6 separate regions of the Homo sapiens genome follow, and regions 2, 3, 4, 5 and 6 are each linked to region 1. The links are contacts of gene promoters, found by promoter capture Hi-C in blood cells and fetal thymus (Javierre and others, 2016). All regions are on one chromosome and are shown on one strand. The core of a region is centred on a gene start or on the middle of the fragment in contact, and the rest is flanking DNA. Distances in the headings are between cores, read along the strand shown.

Evidence for each region. The method cuts DNA at HindIII sites, captures the fragments that hold promoters and counts their contacts. A CHiCAGO score of 5 or more calls a contact.
Region 2: a fragment that was not itself captured here is called in contact with the fragment with the promoter of NDUFA10 in region 1 in 4 of 17 cell types (neutrophils, total B cells, fetal thymus and 1 more); the score reaches 9.3 in neutrophils.
Region 3: a fragment that was not itself captured here is called in contact with the fragment with the promoter of NDUFA10 in region 1 in 1 of 17 cell types (neutrophils); the score reaches 8.0 in neutrophils.
Region 4: a contact is called between a fragment that was not itself captured here and the fragment with the promoter of NDUFA10 in region 1, in 2 of 17 cell types (naive CD4 T cells and total B cells). The highest score is 6.8, in naive CD4 T cells.
Region 5: a contact is called between a fragment that was not itself captured here and the fragment with the promoter of NDUFA10 in region 1, in 5 of 17 cell types (fetal thymus, total B cells, megakaryocytes and 2 more). The highest score is 8.2, in fetal thymus.
Region 6: the fragment with the promoter of RNPEPL1 here is called in contact with the fragment with the promoter of NDUFA10 in region 1 in 5 of 17 cell types (activated CD4 T cells, total B cells, endothelial precursors and 2 more); the score reaches 7.0 in activated CD4 T cells.

What each region holds. Positions count from the first base shown.
Region 1 is chr2:240,023,837-240,026,878 of GRCh38, forward strand. NDUFA10 (NADH:ubiquinone oxidoreductase subunit A10) reads right to left here and starts at 1,506. Exons shown (of 10, transcript NM_004544.4): 1 at 1,391-1,506. The coding sequence starts at 1,465. RefSeq lists a silencer at 1,433-1,692 and an enhancer at 1,501-2,330. The HindIII fragment of the contact is 3,872 bases long and covers 1-2,787 here.
Region 2 is chr2:239,224,755-239,227,796 of GRCh38, forward strand. The region is part of intron 3 of HDAC4 (histone deacetylase 4); the gene reads right to left. Among named protein-coding and RNA genes, the nearest start is that of HDAC4-AS2, 33 kb to the left of the region's middle. RefSeq lists an enhancer at 364-1,258. The HindIII fragment of the contact is 8,852 bases long and covers 1-3,042 here.
Region 3 is chr2:239,240,971-239,244,012 of GRCh38, forward strand. All of the region lies in intron 2 of HDAC4 (histone deacetylase 4), which reads right to left. Among named protein-coding and RNA genes, the nearest start is that of HDAC4-AS2, 49 kb to the left of the region's middle. RefSeq lists an enhancer at 2,901-3,042. The HindIII fragment of the contact is 2,011 bases long and covers 623-2,633 here.
Region 4 is chr2:239,261,093-239,264,134 of GRCh38, forward strand. The region is part of intron 2 of HDAC4 (histone deacetylase 4); the gene reads right to left. Among named protein-coding and RNA genes, the nearest start is that of MIR4269, 43 kb to the right of the region's middle. RefSeq lists enhancers at 961-1,460, 3,011-3,042. The HindIII fragment of the contact is 504 bases long and covers 1,336-1,839 here.
Region 5 is chr2:239,395,876-239,398,917 of GRCh38, forward strand. All of the region lies in intron 1 of HDAC4 (histone deacetylase 4), which reads right to left. Among named protein-coding and RNA genes, the nearest start is that of HDAC4, 3.6 kb to the right of the region's middle. The HindIII fragment of the contact is 1,392 bases long and covers 765-2,156 here.
Region 6 is chr2:240,566,999-240,570,040 of GRCh38, forward strand. It overlaps RNPEPL1 (arginyl aminopeptidase like 1), which reads left to right and starts at 1,486. Exons shown (of 11, transcript NM_018226.6): 1 at 1,486-2,116. The coding sequence starts at 1,589. RefSeq lists silencers at 1,203-1,462, 1,493-1,552, 1,693-1,882, 2,123-2,172 and enhancers at 1,933-2,571, 2,443-2,622, 2,572-3,042. The HindIII fragment of the contact is 8,327 bases long and covers 1-3,042 here.

The sequences.
Region 1 (3,042 bases), core at 256-2,755:
TAAACACCTCTCGCAAATGAAATTAACGCAGATAGCAAATAAGTATATGAAAAGATGAACACTGTATATCATGAGATATTCCAAAGTTGAAACAAGATACCACTACGCAGCTATCAGAATGGATAGCAATCCAAAGTAACCGACAGCCCCGCATGCTGGCGAGCACGCAGAGCAACAAGGAGAGCCTTCACTTCTGGTGGGAGTCAAATGGCACAGTCACTCTGGAAGATGGCTTGGCAGCTTCTTAGAAAACTAGTCTTACTACATGAGTAATCGCTCTTCCAGGTATTACCCAAATGATATAAAAATGTATTTCCAAAAAGAAATCTGCATGTACACGATTACAGCAGCTTTATTCATAATTGCCAAAAACTTGAAGCAACCAAGATGCCCTTCAATTGCTGAATGAATTGAAGTACATCCATGCAATGAGATATTACTCAGTGATTAAAAAGAAATGAGTTACCAAGCCACGAAGACATAAGTGAATCTTACATAGATATTTCCAAGTATTCAAGGCGTCTGAAAAGGCAATATATTGTATGATTCTAATTATATGACATTCCAGAAAAGGCAACTATGGAAATGTTAATGAGATCTGTGGTTGTCAGGGGTTGGAGAAAAAGAAGGGTTTAATAGGTAAAGCAGAGGGGAATTTTTTAAGGCAGTGAAGCTACTCTGTACGAACCTATAATGGTGGAGACATGCTATTACACACGTGTCAAAACCTATAGAACCTTATAGCACAAAGAAAAAATCCATAGAACCTTATAGCACAAAGAATGCGCTCAATGTATGCACATTTTAAAAAACGCATTAGGTAGAAGGATCCCAAGATGTAAGGCAGAATGTGACAAAGCAATCCAACTGTGTTACAAATGTATGAAACGATTTCACTGAAGAAGGTGGGGGCAAAATGCTAAGAAATGAGAGTAGTCAGTCAGAGTAAAGGCAAAAGGAAGCGGACACAAGCACTGAACTCCGTGTCTGCTCAACATGGCATCACCCAAGCACCCAGCAGGGCCCGACCTTTAAACGGCTCTTGACAGGGCTGCTACGTGAATTATCTAATGACAAGCGCGTGTGCCCCCGGCCTGCCACCTGCACACGGGCCTCCCGCATCAGGGCAGCCTCGGGGCCCTGATCACCTCCGCGCTCCAGCGTTTTGCTTAAAGCTGAGATAAAATGGCCTGGAGAAGCTCGTGGCCCCCTGAGGTCTGTCCACGACCAAAGACCAAACAATTCCGGAGGCAGGAGGGGTCCCCCAAACCCACCCGGAGAGCGACCTGGGAGCCGCCGCCAGAGGCCGGGGGAGATGTGGAACTGCTCCCCACCCCGCCACCCCGCCACCCTGCCACCCCGCCACCCTGCCACCCCGCCGCCCGCTCACCACGCGCTGGGCGCCCGCCGCCACGACCCGGGCGGACGCGGACGTCGCTGCCAGCTTCAGGAGCCGCAAGGCCATGGCTACCCGGTCAGCTCAGGATCAAGGACCCAAGGGGACGCGGTCGCGACGGGGCCCTCTCTCGCGGCCGGCGCGCTGCCGTGACGTCACGGCCGGGGTGCCCGCGGCGCCTGTCGGGAACCTTCCAGGGGGCGGGGCCGCGCCGAGGCCCTCGGGGGCTTCCGCGGAGACAGCCAGTGCGCTGCCAGGGTCCTGCGGGTTGGGGCGAGGGCCGAGAGGTGGGAGTTGGAGGTGAACGTGGGGGCAGCATGCTGGCTGCCCGGCCCCTGCCTGGGTTCTGAGTTGCTGCGGTGTCGCGGGAGCTGAGGCCGCCCAGGGCGTGGAGCGACTTCTGCGTCTCGTCCCAGGGTCCTGTGCTCCCCGCAGAATCCCCCAGGCGCGGTGTGGACGTCAAAGCGACCTCCTAGAGAACATTCCTAGCTCTCAGAACGTTCTCGCTGGGGAGGGAAAGTGGAAAAAGAGGGGGCGAGGAGCGGAGGGACGGGGTGGGACCCCTGTCGCGGGGCGCCTGTCAGGGAGAGGGACCTGGCAAGGCCGGCCTGGGTCGCCTCCGGAGCTGAAGGCTAAGTGGTCTCATCCAGGGGACCTGCTGTGAACACATTGAATAGCATAGAAAACAAAAGCACACGCTCCAAGTCCATCTCTTTTTTTTTTTTTTTTTTTTTTTTTTTTTTTTTTTTTTTTTGAGGCAGAGTCCCGCTCTGTCGCCCAGGCTGGAGTGCGGTGGCGCCATCGCGCTCACTGCAAGCTCCGCCTCCCTGGTTCACGCCATTCTCCTGCCTCAGCCTCCCGAGTAGCTGGGACTACAGGCGCCCGCCGCCACACCCGGCTAATTTTTTGTATTTTTAGTAGAGACGGGGTTTCACCATGTTAGCCAGGATGGTCTCGATCTCCTGACCTCGTGATCCACCCGCCTCGGCCTCCCAAAGTGCTAGGATTACAGGCGTGAGCCACCGCGCCGGCAAGTCCATCTCTTAAAATGTGCTCCCGTCAGGACCTGGGCTCTGGGCTCCACGAAGGAGCCTTGCATGTGAGGTTTCCTTCCAAGTATGCCTGCTGTTGGGAAGGGTTTTTATAATCTTTTGTGTTCCCCAGGCTTTTTGTTCTTAACCCCTTAAATATTCTTTAACTTTGTTTTCAACTTTTCAGAAATGATCATGCGATTGTAAAACAGTGGGAATGCAGCTGTGTAAACTACGGCCGGTTCTATGGATGTTTCTATAATTGAAGAATTGCTTTTTGTCAAAAATACGGATTCCCGGTCCCCAACGCAGGAGGGTCTGGTTTTTAGATCCTGGAGGGCACCTGAAATCCATTTAACAAGCTTTAGGGTTCATGTCTGCTGTTTTTTGCCTTGTTTCCTTTGCATTTTTTTTTTTTTTTTTTTTTTGTGCCTTCCAATGGATACAGTACATTTTTTTAGAATTCCATCTTGATTTACTGATAATGTCTTGGGAAATATCATTATGTATAGTTTTCGTAGTGGTTCCTCTAGGTATCACAGCACGCAGACGTAACTTCTCACAACCTGTTTGCGTGGATGTTTTGTTGTACCTGAGCGAGTTAGAAAAACACCA
Region 2 (3,042 bases), core at 376-2,875, 800 kb before region 1:
TGAGTGAATGAATGAATGAGTTGAACGCAGAAATCCACCCTCCTGAATCCCCAGTCCTTGACTGCTCACTCTCCTCCACAGCGATTCTCGCCTCTCACATGTTCTAATATTGTAGGTAATTTACAATCAATAAGCTGGAATTAATGAGCATATTTAGAATCCAGCACCCAATTACTAGAGAATTCAAAATCTTCTCACACATATATTAAAGATTCATAAAAATTGACCACAAAGCAAGTCTCAGTAAAATTCAACAGCTGGGTAATTTCTAACCATAATGGAGTAAATTAGAAATGAATAACAAAAAAGATGACTTGGAAAATTCAGACTTTCGGGAAACAAAAAACACTTCTAAATATTTCATTTTTTCAAATAAAAAAGGAACCAAAAAGCAAATTTCAAAATAACTCTCTTGAGAAACACCAAGACTTTATGAAGTGTTAATGTAATATGCTTTACAAATTAAATAATACAAATTAGAACTTATCCAAAGCAGCCCCATTTGAACCCCAAGGGAAGCACAGCACAGAACCCTGAATGCCTCCATCCGAAAGGAAGAAGGGCTAAAAATTAACAAGTGAAATGTTCAACCTAAAAGAACAAGCATATCCGAATAAATGCAGAGAAAGGAGAACAGCTATTAAAACAGGAATTAATAAAACAGAGAACACACCCACAAGAGCAGATCCACGAAGGCAGAAGTCGGTCTGCGGGAGAGTAAAGCATAGCTGGACTCCCACCACCTGCAGGGTGCCCCCACCCCAGGGGGGGATGAGAAACACCTGGATGGAGGGGTGGAGCCTGGCTGGGCTCAAGAGCAGGAGAGGGAAGCCAGGAAGGCGGGGAAGGCAGGTCGGCAGGGGAGGGCAGGCCCGCCCAGGAAGGCCCACGCAGGGCTGGGTGCTGTAGAACTGAAAGAAGTGCCAGCCCCTTCCTCAGGCGCCTGACTAAACCGCCTTCAATTTCTTCCCCTCGCCCGTGGCCACGTACTGCTACCCAAGGGACACCTCCAGTCCTCCCTCACCTGGTCAGACACCTGGCTCTGATGGCCCCTCGGAGCCCCTCATTGGAAACACAGAGGGCCTGAGTTTGGTTCTGCATCACGTGTGACAGTGTGTGCATCTTGCTGTGAGGTCCAGAAATGGAAACCTTCCTTAAAAGATGGGCAGGTTCCTCTGGTAGGGGACATGGTGTTGGTACGGCGAAAACATGACATTAGGGTCAAATGTGGCTGCTGAGAAGGAACTCCCTTTCAGCTGCACCGCGACACCCTAACACAGACAAGGGTCGGCAAAGAGCCATCTCCCTCGTCCTGGCGGCACAGGCTTCCAGATGCCACTGAGGGGCTCCGCAGGCCCTCTGGATACATTTTACAGTCCACAGCCTTAAAGCACACAAAGCTGGTAATAAAAGAAAAAAGATAAAAAGCCCTTTAACCAGAAATGATGTCATGATGCAAAAATTCATTCCTGGATAATACTTTTGGCCACCAGTGACACTCCGAATACACAAACCAAACCAAATTCTCAGTGGAAAAAAAAAATCCTTTCTTCCAACCAATCATCACTTAGAACTGTGGAATCCTCCCTGAGAGATACTCAGTGAGATTTCTCTGTATTCTGTATCAACACGGTTGAGGGGCACTGCTGGGACTGCCACATAGCTTTCTCTCTCCCTCTAAAGTAGAGAAACAACCAGTCACCAGCTCCACCCCATCCAGATTTGCTGTGGATGTGTGGACGGTTTTAGAAGCACCCAGAGGATATTTCTCAGACAGCACCCCCAATTCTCCACGACGCCCCAACCAATAACCGTCTGCTTTCTTACCACCCATGTTCCTTGCTAAGGGCAGACAGTAAGCTCTTCAGAAATCTTTGGGTCGACAGCAACAACAACAATGTAACATGTAATGGGGGGGGTGATAAATGTAGATAACCCAAACAATCTAATGTCCACCCAGGATGGAGAAACTTTCTATCTTTCTGCCTCAGGCACTGCGGACAGGGAAAGAACCAGTTGGAAAGTGAGGCCGGCAGGCTCACGGGTGGGGCTGGCAGGCAGCAGTGTCCTGGGCCGCGTGGGGAGGCACGGTCCCACCTGCCAGCCACAGGGTGGCATTTCAGAGCCACAGGGCATTTCTGGTCAAAAATAACAGAGTGAACACAATCACGTTGTCAGGATCCCTCCAAGATTCTGCTGAAACAGTGTGTGGATTGTTTAGAAAGACACACCAACACAACACACACACAGGAGATGAGAGAGCAGCCACAAAATGCTGGAAGTCAGAAAGGATCTGGGTGAATAAGGTATCAGAGACAGCAAAGCTGACCCATCAGCCAGGGTGGGCCAAGGGAGGGGCAGACCAGTCTCGGTCACACAGCCCTCCGGGGCACAGGGGCTGGTGGGACCAGGACTGGAGGTGAAGGAGAATGAAATATCTGCTCAGGGAATGCAGGGCCCCAACCACCGCTTACCCCACGTGGCTGGCAGAGCCCAGGGACTACTACCCTCTGGAGAGGGAGATGGAACAGCACTGAAAACTGCGGACCAGTGGAAGCTGGCCAGCTACACGTGAGGTGTCCTGGTCTTCCTGCCCCAGCATGGGGGCAGGGCAGGCAGCATTGGGCCCTCCCAGTGAGGTCACAGGGGCTAAGCAGCCTGCTGGACACCATGCCAAGTGGGACCGGGCAGCCCCCAGCGGCCAGCACCCTGCATGCCCCTGCAGGTCCCGCCAGCCTCAGTGCCCTCTGCTACAGATGGCAGATACCGTGCTCACCAGAAAGGCCAGGAAGACTGTCATCACAGAAGGCAGAGCCTGGACAGACAGACAAGCACCTTGGGGAAATGCAGACAGAGAGAAGGGAAGACAGGCCCTCCAAAGACAAGCGGAAGGAGCGGGAGGCAGCCCTGGAGTTCCAGGACAGGAGGGCATGCCTCGGGTGCGGAGGAACATAGTCTCTGCCCGGTGAAATGAGCAAGCAAGCCTCAGAGGGCTAACACCATTAAAAGCCAGAAGGGCCCTCTGAAGGCAAATGTGACTGA
Region 3 (3,042 bases), core at 378-2,877, 780 kb before region 1:
GAACCTCACTTTCACCCGGAGGGCCCAGGCCCCCCACTTCACACTTGGGGAAATGGCCTCAAGGGCTGTGCAGTTTCCTAGGATCACGGAGTGAGCACCAGCCGGAATCCAGTTCTGTCTCAATTAAACCAGCGGCTTGTCTGAAGCTGGACCTTGAGCAAACAGGTACCCACCAAGACCAGTGCCCTCCACCAAGGGTTTCACATCACAATACCGACACACAAGAAAGGAGGTTTCTTGAGCCAATAAAGAAAGTACATGAAAGCCCCACGCACAGGCTCCTGAACTGGGAGGGGAAGGGAGTGGGGAGAAAGTGTGGTTTCCACCCTTGGGACCTGCCTGGGAACACCTAGTCCTGCCCAGGTTGGGGTGAAAGGGTGTCTCTTGAAGGTTTCATTTGTCTTTCCCAGATGACCAATGACACTGACCATCTTCTTACATGTTTATTGGCTTTTTCACTGGCTGTTTTGGATTCATGTCTTTTTGACCTGTTTTTTGCCCCCAGTTGGGTTGTCTTTTTCTTATTGATTCAGAGGAATTCTTTACAAATTCTGAACATTAATCCTCTGTCAATTAAATGCTGCAGATATCCTCTCAAAGGTCCTATTTCTCAATCTTTCAAAGCTTCTGCTTTTATGTCAGGTTCAAGAAACTCTTCTCTTCCTGGAGGCTGCAGAGATATTTTAACATATTTTTACCCTGAAACTTTGCAGTGTTCCCTTTTATATGTAAGTCTCTCATCTACTGGCACTGATGTTTGTATACGCTATGAGACAGGGGTTTGGGGTATGTTTTCCTATGATAACAGCCAAATGTCCCCTCAGTGTTATTAAGAGGTCTTATCTTTCACCATGGATGGGCAACATTAGTTCCCTTATAAGCCAAATCTCAATCCTGTTGGCCAACTTGTTTTTGGTTTTGCCAATAATCACACTGTCTTAACCACCATAACTGTACAATAACTCTTAATATTGGCAAGGCAAAAAACCCTACTTTTTTCTTCCAGATCATCTTGGGCAAAATTGGCCTTTTACTCCGCCACATAAATTTTAAAATTAACTTGACAAGTTCCACCAAAAGAAAAGAAAAGAGAAAAAGAAAGAAAGAGAAGGAAGGAAGGAAGGAAGGAAGGAGAAAAAAAGAAAGAAAGAAAGAAGGAGAAAGAGAAAGAAAGAAAGAAAGAGAAAGAAAGAAAAGAGAAAGAAAGAGAGAGAGAGAAAGAGGGAGAGAAAGAGAGAGGACGAGAGAGGAAGGAGGGGAAGGGAGGGAGGGAGGGAGGGAGGGAGGGAAACGAACAGTGCCTGGGATTGCACTGCATCTGTCATTTTGAGAGAAGATAATCTTTACAGTACTGCATCTTTCAATCCATGAACATGGGCTATTACCTCCTTTCATTTCTCTCAGAAATGTTTCAGAATTTTCAGTGTTGCGGTCTTGAACATCTTTAGATTTATTACTAGGTATTTGATATTTGATTTCCATTATCAATTTCTGTTTGCTTGCATATGGAAACACAATTAATTTTTACTTATTGGTTCTGTATCGTAGAATATTAATTTCAATCATTTTTCTGTAGTTATCGTGTATTTTCTACATATAGAATCAGGTCACGTACAAATAATGACAGTTGTTTCCACCTTCCAGACCTCACACCTTTTCTTCTTCTTTATTCTGCTGGCTCAGTCCTACAGTACAGTAACTAAAGAGAAATGGTGATAAAAGACACTTTGGTCTTGTTTCTGATCTTACGAAGGATATTTCAATGTTTTACTGGAAAGTGTATTGCTTGCTGCAGGTGTCCAACAGGTAACTATCAGATTAAGGAAGTTCCCATCTACTCCTAGTTTGCCAAGACATATTTTTAAATCACATGTTTGCTTAACTGTATTAAACTTTTCTGCATCAATTCAGCTTATTAAATAATTTCCCCTTCCATCTGATAACGTAGTAAACTTTTTTTTCTCATGTCAAACTAACTTTGCATTCCTGTGACAAACCAGCGTGGTCAGGCCCAGGGGGTTTTTGGGAACAGGAAGGCAGCAAGAGCTCCACACAAGCTACACCTAAACTCTTTTCCACGCTTGATTCTGAAGACTTGGAGACCTCAGTCCCACATTTCACCTTAGCACCTCACTTCAATATTTCGTTATGAGCATAAAATGAGAATTGGATAAATTAACATTCCTTTTTTTTTTTTTTTGAGACATTGTCTCGCTCTGTTGCCCAGGCTGGACTGCAGTGGCTGGATCTCAGCTCACTGCAAGCTCCGCCTCCCAGGTTCACGCCATTCTCCTGCCTCAGCCTCCCGAATAGGTGAGACTACAGGCACCCGCCACCAAGCCCAGCTAGTATTTTGTATTTTTAGTAGAGACGGGGTTTCACCATGTTAGCCAGGATGGTCTCGATCTCCTGACCTTGTGATCCGCCTGCCTCGGCCTCCCAAAGTGCTGGGATTACAGGCGTGAGCCACCGCTCCCGGCTGGATAAATTAACATTCTAAAGTGTGTTTGGTGGGGGGTTGCTGACATAGACAAAAACAATGAAACCGCTGTGACTCAAGAGTAGTATAGGTCACACCTCACTGTGCACACCCCACTGTGCTAACAGAGCTGCTTTTCAGACACGGGAACGGAAGCTTAGGGCTACTGGGAAACAGTAACGACACAGTCTTCATTGCAGCCAATCTCCCCATCCTTTCATATTTTTCAAACAAAGGTGTTGTTTTAGAACAGCTGTGAGTTTATAGAAAAATTAAAGCTAGTAGAGACTTATCCTATACTCTGCACCCTCCATGCCCTACAACTAACATCTTCCATTCCTGTACTCTGCACCCTCCATGCCCTACAACTAACACCTTCCATCAGGATGCTGTGCTTAGGTGTCATGACAGAAAAAGCCCGGACTTGATTCAGATTTCCTCCGTTTTTCCCTGGTGCCCATTTTCTGTCCTAGCGCCCATCCAGGGTCCTGCCTCTCTTGGCTGCAACAGTATCTCAGACCTTCCTTGTTTTTGACCACCTTGACAGCTTTAAGCAATCCTGC
Region 4 (3,042 bases), core at 338-2,837, 760 kb before region 1:
ACAGGATCTTGCTACATTGCCCAGGCTGGGCTTAAGCCTCAGCCTCCTGAGATGGGGTGGCCGGGGTGGTGTTAAAGATAAGACTGAGCCCAGCTGGCCCATTCTGTAAAGGCAAACAGAAAATCAAGAAACGTGCAGGTGAGACAGGTACTGCCGAGGCCTAAATGCACTTTAGGAACTAAATTCAACAGAATGTACACGAGCCCAGGTAACACGCTAGAGATGAGACTAAGGAGGGCGTACAGAAGGCACCAAGTCCAGAACTCCACCCCAGCAGCTGCCGTGTGCTGAGATGGAGCGTGGTCACAGCCAGCCAGGCTCTGCACAGACGGAAGCAAACCGTGGCAGGCCTGGGCTCTGGGAGGTGGGCAGGCCCTGGGGACCCTGTTAGGTGCATCCATGGGGCATCCTAGGACATGACAAAACACGCTTCAACAGTTGCCAAAAATGGGCATCTTACTAGCCTGCCAGCCAGCATGTAGACTTCCCAGGCTGGGAGCCTCAGGTCCACAGAGGAGGAGCCTTCTGGTTCCCCCACAACCCACGGGCTAGAGACAAGGCTGGACAAGGGGTCTCCCTGCTGAAGAAAAGCAGAAGTCAGCGTCCTAAGAGGGCCTGGTGAGATGGTGGCCCAGGCCCACGGGGAGGAAGGGGCAGCAGTGGGCTGGTCCACTCTTAGAAGGCGAGGTTTCCAACTCAAACCACCCCAGAACCTTCCCTCGCTCCTTAACAGTGGCAGGAGCCCGGCAGGGACACCCCCCACCCGGCCCAGCCAGGAGGTTCTGCTGCCAGCCTGCCCAGGGCAACTGAGAGTCTCGAAAAGCCTATGTCGGAGGGTCCTCGGGTTGCCTGGCGCCATGAAAGCACTGCCTTCGTGAGCCCCCGGCCCCTACAGGTTGGCCTCTTCCCTGAAGGCCCCAGACACAGAGGCCCTAGGTGGGAATCCAGCAGGGTGGCATCTGCCCCCTTGTCGCTCCAAGGGAAAGCCCTGAGGGACCCTCCCAACCACGCCAGCGCCGCCTGCAGTGACGCCGGGCCACGCTCACCCCAAGGCCCAAGAAGGAGCCACGGTCCACTGAGACCCACGACAAGGTATCCACGTGGCTTTTTATAAGCTAGTATTTCCTCCTGTGGTGTCTCCTTGGGGGAATCCTAAATTTCTGTGATGTGAGATAAAATTTTAGTGGGATTACAGAAACCTTGGCTTAGTATCAGAGACCACAATAACACACTTTAGAAACAGAGTAGCAATTTGGTTCTCTGCGGAATCGTAAGTGGAAGGGATGTATTTTCCTTGAGATTTTAAAAATAATTAGGAGGAAGAGATAAAAGAGAAGCTTTTGTGAAAGCAGAGATAGAAATTTAATTAGAAACAGACGAGGATCTTCTCAAATCACCCTTGCCTTGTTTGCCCAGGTCCGAGATGAGGTAATGCCATTAGCAGGCAAGACTGATCTCTACTCTGAGGGGGCCAGAGCCTGGCTCTGACACTCTTGGCCAAATGTCCCCATCCTCAGCCTGGCTCCATTTTCTGGGCAAGAGTGTGGGACCAACGAGACCTGGGCTAGTGCAGGGGTGGGCAGGCACCACAAGCGGGACACCCCCAAGGGTGCACACGGCTGAAGGCGCAACGGGCACAGGGCATTCTGTGGGCCACGCTCGCAGCCCAAGAACACAGACGAGGAGGCCTGTGCTCAGGCACTAAGGACACGGAGGGACTGTTCTGGGATCCACCCAGCAGCTCTTGGAAAAGCTGGTGCCCTGGTGAGCAGGAGAGCGTGAGGCTCTAAGGAGTGGATCCCTCACTGGAAGGTCACGGCACCACTGAGACAGCCTGGAAGCTTCTGTGCTTCACGAAAGATCTACGCGTGAAGCCCCCGGGAAGCCAAGCCCCAGGAAGGGCCCATTATGCCGATGAAGACACGAGAGAATGAAGGATGTGGACACTGCCCCAAACACTCGGGACCAAGAGAAGATCCCAGAACCTGCTGCGGCGGTGACACAGGCACATACACACCACTGCAATTACTGCTAGAAAATATGAAAAACACTACCCTCCTTCATGTCTGCTGTGTCGGTGCCCTAGCCTCTGCCCCAGAGGTCAGAATGGCTCCAAGGGCACGGGGCCACTGTGCAACTGCACATCAGCCATCCCGAAGCCCGCCCTGAGGACCCCCGCCCAGCCCAGCCCCCTACACATCAGCTGTCTCGAAGCCCACCCTGAGGACCCCCGCCCATCCCAGCCCCTTGCACATCAGCCGCCCCGAAGCCCGCCCAGTCCCCTGCCTGGAGATCACCCCTTCTCTTCACAACAGGCAGCAGGTGAACAGCTTCCCCCTCGGAGCTGCCCCATGGGCCTCACTGCACAGGTGTGGAGGCGTCCACGTCTACACCACCAGGAACCCCCAGGCAGGGCAGCTCTTGGCACTGATGCCCAACGGGTATTGCTAGGCCCGCACGGAGCTGCTGTCAAGGACAGGGGCAAGGGCAGGGAAGTGAGGCTCTACACACAGCAGCATCTTCATGCCTTGCCTGAGAGTATGTTCTAGAAGGACACGGGAGAGAAGAATAAACAGGGTCAGGACAGTCAGGAAAGGCCTCCAAGTTGGAGGTGTTAACCACATCTGAAGGGGTTCCTGAGAGACACGGGGGCACCGACGGGGGGACAGAGCCCAGTGCTGCTGTCCTGGGCATGCAGAGCAAGCCGCCTGCCTGGCCCCAGCTGTCCGACTCGGCTGAGCCTCGCCTCCTGCTGCTCGATCTAAGCTGGCTGCCCAGTGACGCCACTCTGCCCCTTCTCTGCAGAGGGGAAGCTCCGTGAAGGCAGAGCCCTGTCTGGCCACTGCTCCCCTCAGTCTGAAAGGAAGGGTACGTGGGCACCTCTGAGAGCCAGTGGCTTACTCAGGGCACACAGGACCTTTGGGGTGGGGGCCATCCTCGAGCGGGGGCTCAATGACTGAAAACAAAAGGGGGAAGACACAGCCCTGGAAAGGAGGGGGCTGACTTTCCCAGGCCAGGCGGGGAGCTCGTGGGGAGACGGGC
Region 5 (3,042 bases), core at 211-2,710, 630 kb before region 1:
CTGTGGGGACAAGGAGAATGGCATTTAAGATTTTGACACTTAAGACTTTTCTAGAGAGCAATTCGGTAATCACTATTTTATGTTTATACATTACATATATAAACTTTTTTGGGGGGGACAGCCCAGGGTCTCGCTGTGTCACTCAGGCTGAAGTGCAGTGGCAAAATCACACCTCACTGCAACCTTGACTTTCCAGGCTCACGTGATTCTCCTGCCACAGCCTCCCAAGTAATGGGGACTACAGGCACACGACGTCATGCCTGATTTTTTTTTTTTTTTTGTAGAGATGAGGGTCTCACTATGTTGCCCAGGCTGGTCTTGAACTCCTGGGCTCAAGTGATCCTCTCACCTTGGCCTCCCAAAGTTCTGGGATTACAGGCATAAGGTACCTCGCCCAGCCCTATTATATTTTATATAATAATACATATGGGTCTCTCCAGAGAGCAAATGATAATAAATAACAGCCAACATTTATATCATGCTTACTACATGCCAGGCCCTATTCAAGGAAATTTCCATACATTAACTTAAACTTTGCAAAAACCTTACAAAATAGAAATTATTATTATGACCAGCAACAGGTATCATCAAACTCGCCAATATGATAGGCATAAAGGGAATCTCCTTCACACTGAATTGATTAGTAATGCTAACCTTTCATCACTGGCACAATGATTCAATGTTCATACGTTCTGCTCATCTTGCAATGGTGATCTCATGCTCTCCTTATTGGTCTGTAAAAGCTCTTTATATATTGACTGTTAAGCTTACACAGGCATAATGTGGTATGTATTTTCTCTCTCGTCTCTTAGCCCGGCTGACGGAGTCTTTTGCCAAAGAGATTTTTTAAAAAACTCTTATCCTATTAAATCTGTCAAGATTTTCTTTAAGGTTTCTGGGTTGGTATTGAAAGAGTAGATTAACTTGGTCCTCAAATGCTTTCTTCCAATAAAATCTTCCAAGGTAATCAACAGACCGAACAACAAACACTAAAAGCTGCTCCGGCTGAAGTGGACTTGGAGCATTAGCTCCCTTCCGTCACCCCCACCTGCCTCCAGGCGTCCTGGGGACTTTGCAGGAGAAGAACATGATGTCTTCTAGTTCTGCAGTCCCACACGTGACATAAGACAGCATGAGAAAGCCAGAAGTACTGCCCAGACCTATGAAACGCGCCTGTAACAGCGCCAAGAACAGTCAACACAGCACTAGAAAGTCTAACGACACTGAACTAGAAAGGTATTCCAAATCGTCCTCTTCTCTAAGAGGCTGTGTTCGCCCAAGCACCTCGACAAGCTGAACTTCAGCTTCAAGGTCACCACCAGCCTAGAAGCAGAGGCACGGAGAGGAACTGGCCTTTGGGACTGGAGATGCAGGGGGTGGCACATGGTCCATTTCATTCTACCCCCAGTTCCTCCAGAGGTAGAGCCCACCTGCAGGACTGTGCTGACACCTACATGGTGAGTGCATGAAACAGCACGAGCCCCAAGCAGGTGCTCATCTGGCGTCAGCTACGGGAGCACGTGACAGCTGCTCGTGGCATCATCTCCTTGCTCCAGGATACATCCTCATCCCCCGACAGTGATACAGGAAGTCACGGTGGGGGCAATCTATGCAGGACCCCGACCTTCCTTCCAGGAAGTGAGTAGGAGGTGTGTCAGCAAGGCCACAGCAAGGGGACATGTAGGACCCTGACCCTCCTTCTAGGAAGTGAGTAGGAGGTTTGTCAGTGAGGCTGCAGCAAGGGGACATGGCCATTTAATGCTGCAGGCACCATGGCCCTCATGCCACCCCAAAACAGGTCCCACTCTTCCCACGCACAGAAGCCCAAGAGAAGAAAACTGACCGTATGAAGAGAACTTACTGACCTTAGTGACACTTGTTCCCACAGAAACGCTTATGAATGAGTTAAGGTCTGTTCAAAGGTAGCATCACTTTTGACATGGCACCCCTCATCTGACCTGAACCAGAAGGTGCAGTACCCGCCTCTAACGTCAAGGCCAAAAACCCAGAGCCCACCACACGGCAGGGCATATGCTGACCACCTGAAATCAAAACAAACACTCCCTCCAAATCCATCCTTTCCGACTCCTTACCCCAGGACAGACTGGGGGCTGCCAACAACAGGGCAGGGGCTCAGTCTCGGTTCCACAGCCCCAAGCTTAGGTGGAGACTGGGCCCCTTCGCCCTTCAGTTCCCCCATCCCCAGCTAGTCATCAATTCTGAGCCTCGGAGGAAAGCCCGGCCACAGCCTGTCGCCCCGCTGCCTCTCAGCAACGGCAGTTCTCTCGGCCTCTGCGGCTCCTTCGCGCCCTACATCAGGTATTAATATATTACTCATGGCAGCTTCTGAGCTATGAAAGCCCAGCCGTTTTCAATAGAGAATGGTATGGATGAATTCTACAGGAGTGATGAAATGTTTCTTCTGCTCCGGCAATTAAGACAGCATAAAGTCGCCTTTCCTTTGGTGCCACCCCCAACATTAAAGGATTGGAATTCAAAGCCATTCATGCTGCATTGAAACCTCACAATGAAGCTGGAGAATGGAAGTCGATTACTGGGCATAAATATGCAGTAGTTAAAAGGAAAGAGTTATAACAAAATTAAACTGCAGCAACCCCACAATGTGTGGAAACTTCCAGCACTAGAGTCCTCCTGGTAAACATCCATAGGGCATTCTTCTCAACGAGGTCTCTGGCCACAGAGTCCAGATGGGCTGCCTGAGCCGCACGTGGCCAGCGTGCCAGGTTGTCCTGTCCATCTTGCTACAGCAACAGCCCCCAAGGCCTCCGAGAATATGGCATTTGGGGATTTTTATTTTGCATGGCTAGGAAGCTGCTGAACACAGAACATTCTCTCTGGTGCAGGGCTCCGAGGCCACATCTGTCCTTCGTCCCTAGGCCTTCCAGGCCCATATGCAGTCCAGTCATCTTCCCTCCACCCCGTCCCCTTAGCCCAGGGCTCCCCCGGGGGCATGCCTGCTGCCAGCTCCCCTTGCAGGAGAAAGAACCCTAAAGAGGGCAGCGTTACATCTGCCTGCTGAGT
Region 6 (3,042 bases), core at 236-2,735, 540 kb after region 1:
TGCAGGGCCCCACCGGGCAGGGCGCTGGGGGCAGTGAGGAGGGTCCCATCTCAGCTGTCTTCCCTGTCAGCCTTGGATGCGAGGCTGATCCACACCTCTGAGTGACTGTGTAAGCCTAGGGGTTCCTGGTGAGTTTGGGATGGGTGCCCCAAGATCGTGGCCGTGTCCCTAAAGAGGGCACGTGGGGACCTGAGGTCCTACGGGAAAACTGAAATGATGCCTCAGTGCTCTGTCCCGCAAACGTGAACGCACACTCTCCCTCTCAGCCTTCCTTCCCGCCCCACGGAAGGAGGGTAGACACAGAGGGTTACACAACGAGGAGACTGAGTCCAGACACAGGAAACACTACTCAGGGCTGACGCTGAGTCGAGTGCGGTACCCGAGTCCAGCCCTGCACGGCCACACCTCAATGGAGCAGAAGAGAGAGGTGTCCTGGGTTCCTGGATAGTTCCCCAGCCCCAGAAGCCCCTTGTCCCTAGGAATTTGAATTCTTACTTGATGACAACAGCGACATCATGGTGGCCCCTGTTATTCCACAGCCTCAAAATTTAACCGCTGTGAGCTCACTAGCAGCTTCTGCCAGGCGAGCACCCCTTCCCTCGGGGCTCAGGCTCCTGGACAGGCTCAGCCTTGGGCAGCCTTCGCCAGGTCCACAGAGAATGGCGTTGGGAAGGGTGGACCTGGCGGATGGGGTGGGGACAGGCGGGCCAGACCCTCCTTCGTACCCCAGCACAGGGCTCCCAAATGAGAGGTCCCCAGCACTGCCCAGAGGAACTTCTGCGATTGTGGAAATGATTCCTGCCTGCTTTGTCCATTAGCCACTCCTCCCAGGAAGACACACACACTCACTCACTCCACCTGCCACGAAGGAACTGAACTTCTAACTGTATTTAATTCGCATCTAAATGGCCACACGTGGTTGGTGGCTGCTGTAGTTGACAGCGCTGCGTGAAGGCTCCGGCGCTTCTCGCACCGCAGGGCCCACAGCACAGACCACACCTGTAGACTTGGAGGAGTGGCAGGGGTGCCAGGAGAATCCTGCCCTGCCCGTAGCCCCGGATGAAAGGATGACATTGAGTTCGCGACGCTGCGCTCCTCGGGAACACGAACCACACCTGGAAGCAGCCTGCCCCTGTGGCCCCAAGGTTCCCGGGTCCCTTCAGCGGCTGCCCCAGGGGCCTGGCCGGCAGTGTCTGGGAGGGAGCAGCGATCCCGCCTCCTGGGATCTCCCGGGCGCCGCCCGGGGAGGAAGCGAGGGGCTGGGGGTGCTGCTCACCCGCTCCGCGCGCCTCGGCTCCCAACACAGCGCCCCGGCCCCGCGCCGCGCTCGATTCCCCGGCTCCCCGCGCCCCTGGCTCCTGGCCCTCCCCGCCCGGCGCCCCGGCCCCGCGCCCCGGCCCCGCGCACAGCGCCCCCGGCGGCGGCCGAGCGGAGCCCGAGCGGGGCGGCGCACGGCGCGGGGCCGGGCCGGGCGGCTCCCGGCGCGACTTCCTGTTGTGCCCGCGCCCCGCCGCCGCCGCCGCCCGGCGCCCCTCGCCCGCGGCCCGGCGCGGCCGCCGCCCATGGATTTCACCTAGTGCCGGCGGCCATGGCCGCGCAGTGCTGCTGCCGCCAGGCGCCCGGCGCCGAGGCCGCGCCCGTCCGCCCGCCGCCCGAGCCGCCGCCCGCCCTGGACGTGGCCTCGGCCTCCAGCGCGCAGCTCTTCCGCCTCCGCCACCTGCAGCTGGGCCTGGAGCTGCGGCCCGAGGCGCGCGAGTTGGCCGGCTGCCTGGTGCTCGAGCTGTGCGCGCTGCGGCCCGCGCCCCGCGCGCTCGTGCTCGACGCGCACCCGGCTCTGCGCCTGCACTCAGCCGCCTTCCGTCGCGCCCCCGCCGCCGCCGCCGAGACGCCCTGCGCCTTCGCCTTCTCCGCCCCCGGGCCGGGGCCCGCGCCGCCGCCCCCGCTGCCCGCCTTCCCCGAGGCGCCCGGCTCCGAGCCCGCCTGCTGTCCGCTGGCCTTCAGGGTGGACCCGTTCACCGACTACGGCTCCTCGCTCACCGTCACGCTGCCGCCCGAGCTGCAGGCGCACCAGCCCTTCCAGGTCATCCTGCGGTACACCTCGACCGACGCCCCCGCCGTGAGTCCGGGGCGGGCGCCGGGGCTGCGGGCCGGTCCGCAGGGCGCTGCTAGCGGCCTCTCGCCGCACGGCCAGGCTGAGGGACGCGAATCTGCGCCCTACAGGTGCCCCCCTCCCCCCACCCCGGTGATTCCCAGCTGTTGCCTGTGAGCCCTTAGGACCCTCGGATAGAAGCCGGAGTCCTGCGGGGACACGGGACAGCATGTCACTCCGGGAAGCCTCCCGTTCAGGTGTCTGGTCCCTGCCTGGGGACATGAGCAGCTTCTGTCACCCACCGAGGTGTACATCTGCAGGATCCTGGCACCAAGGGTTGGGCTGGAGTGTCAGCTGCGGAAGGGCCTCCATGTGACCAGTGCGTGCAGATGAGTCCAAGCCAGAGGCAGAGGAAAGGGCCATGGAGATTGTGATGCTCGGTTTGGGGCTTCCTTGGCCAGCACTGGTGGAGTGTTGAGACCAGTGGGCCCCGCGACCCCAACATAGACACACATAGGCTCTGCAGGGCTTGCACACTGGGTACCCACCACTCCAGAGACTCTGCAAGAAAGGCCAGGTGGCTGAGGCTGGCGCTGTGGCTGCAGCACCCCCTCCACCTCCACCAGTGGGGATGTGTACAGGATGGAGCAGGGCCTTTCCTGCCTACAGCATGGGGGTTCATACTGCATCCCTAGGTGGTATGGACGGCACACATGTGACACCCGACATATGCAAGACACACACAGCTGTGGAGGCGCTGGGAAGTCCAGCTGTCACTGGTCACGGCACATAAATGGACAGGGTGGTGGAGAGGTGGTCGAGAGGCTTCAGGCCACAAAGAGCCAAGGTGACATCTGGGCAGGAAGAACCCAGACCAGTGCACCCCTATGGGCTTCCTGTACATTTCCCAGGAGCCCTAAGCAGGACCTGCCACCTCACCTTTTTCCCAGAAC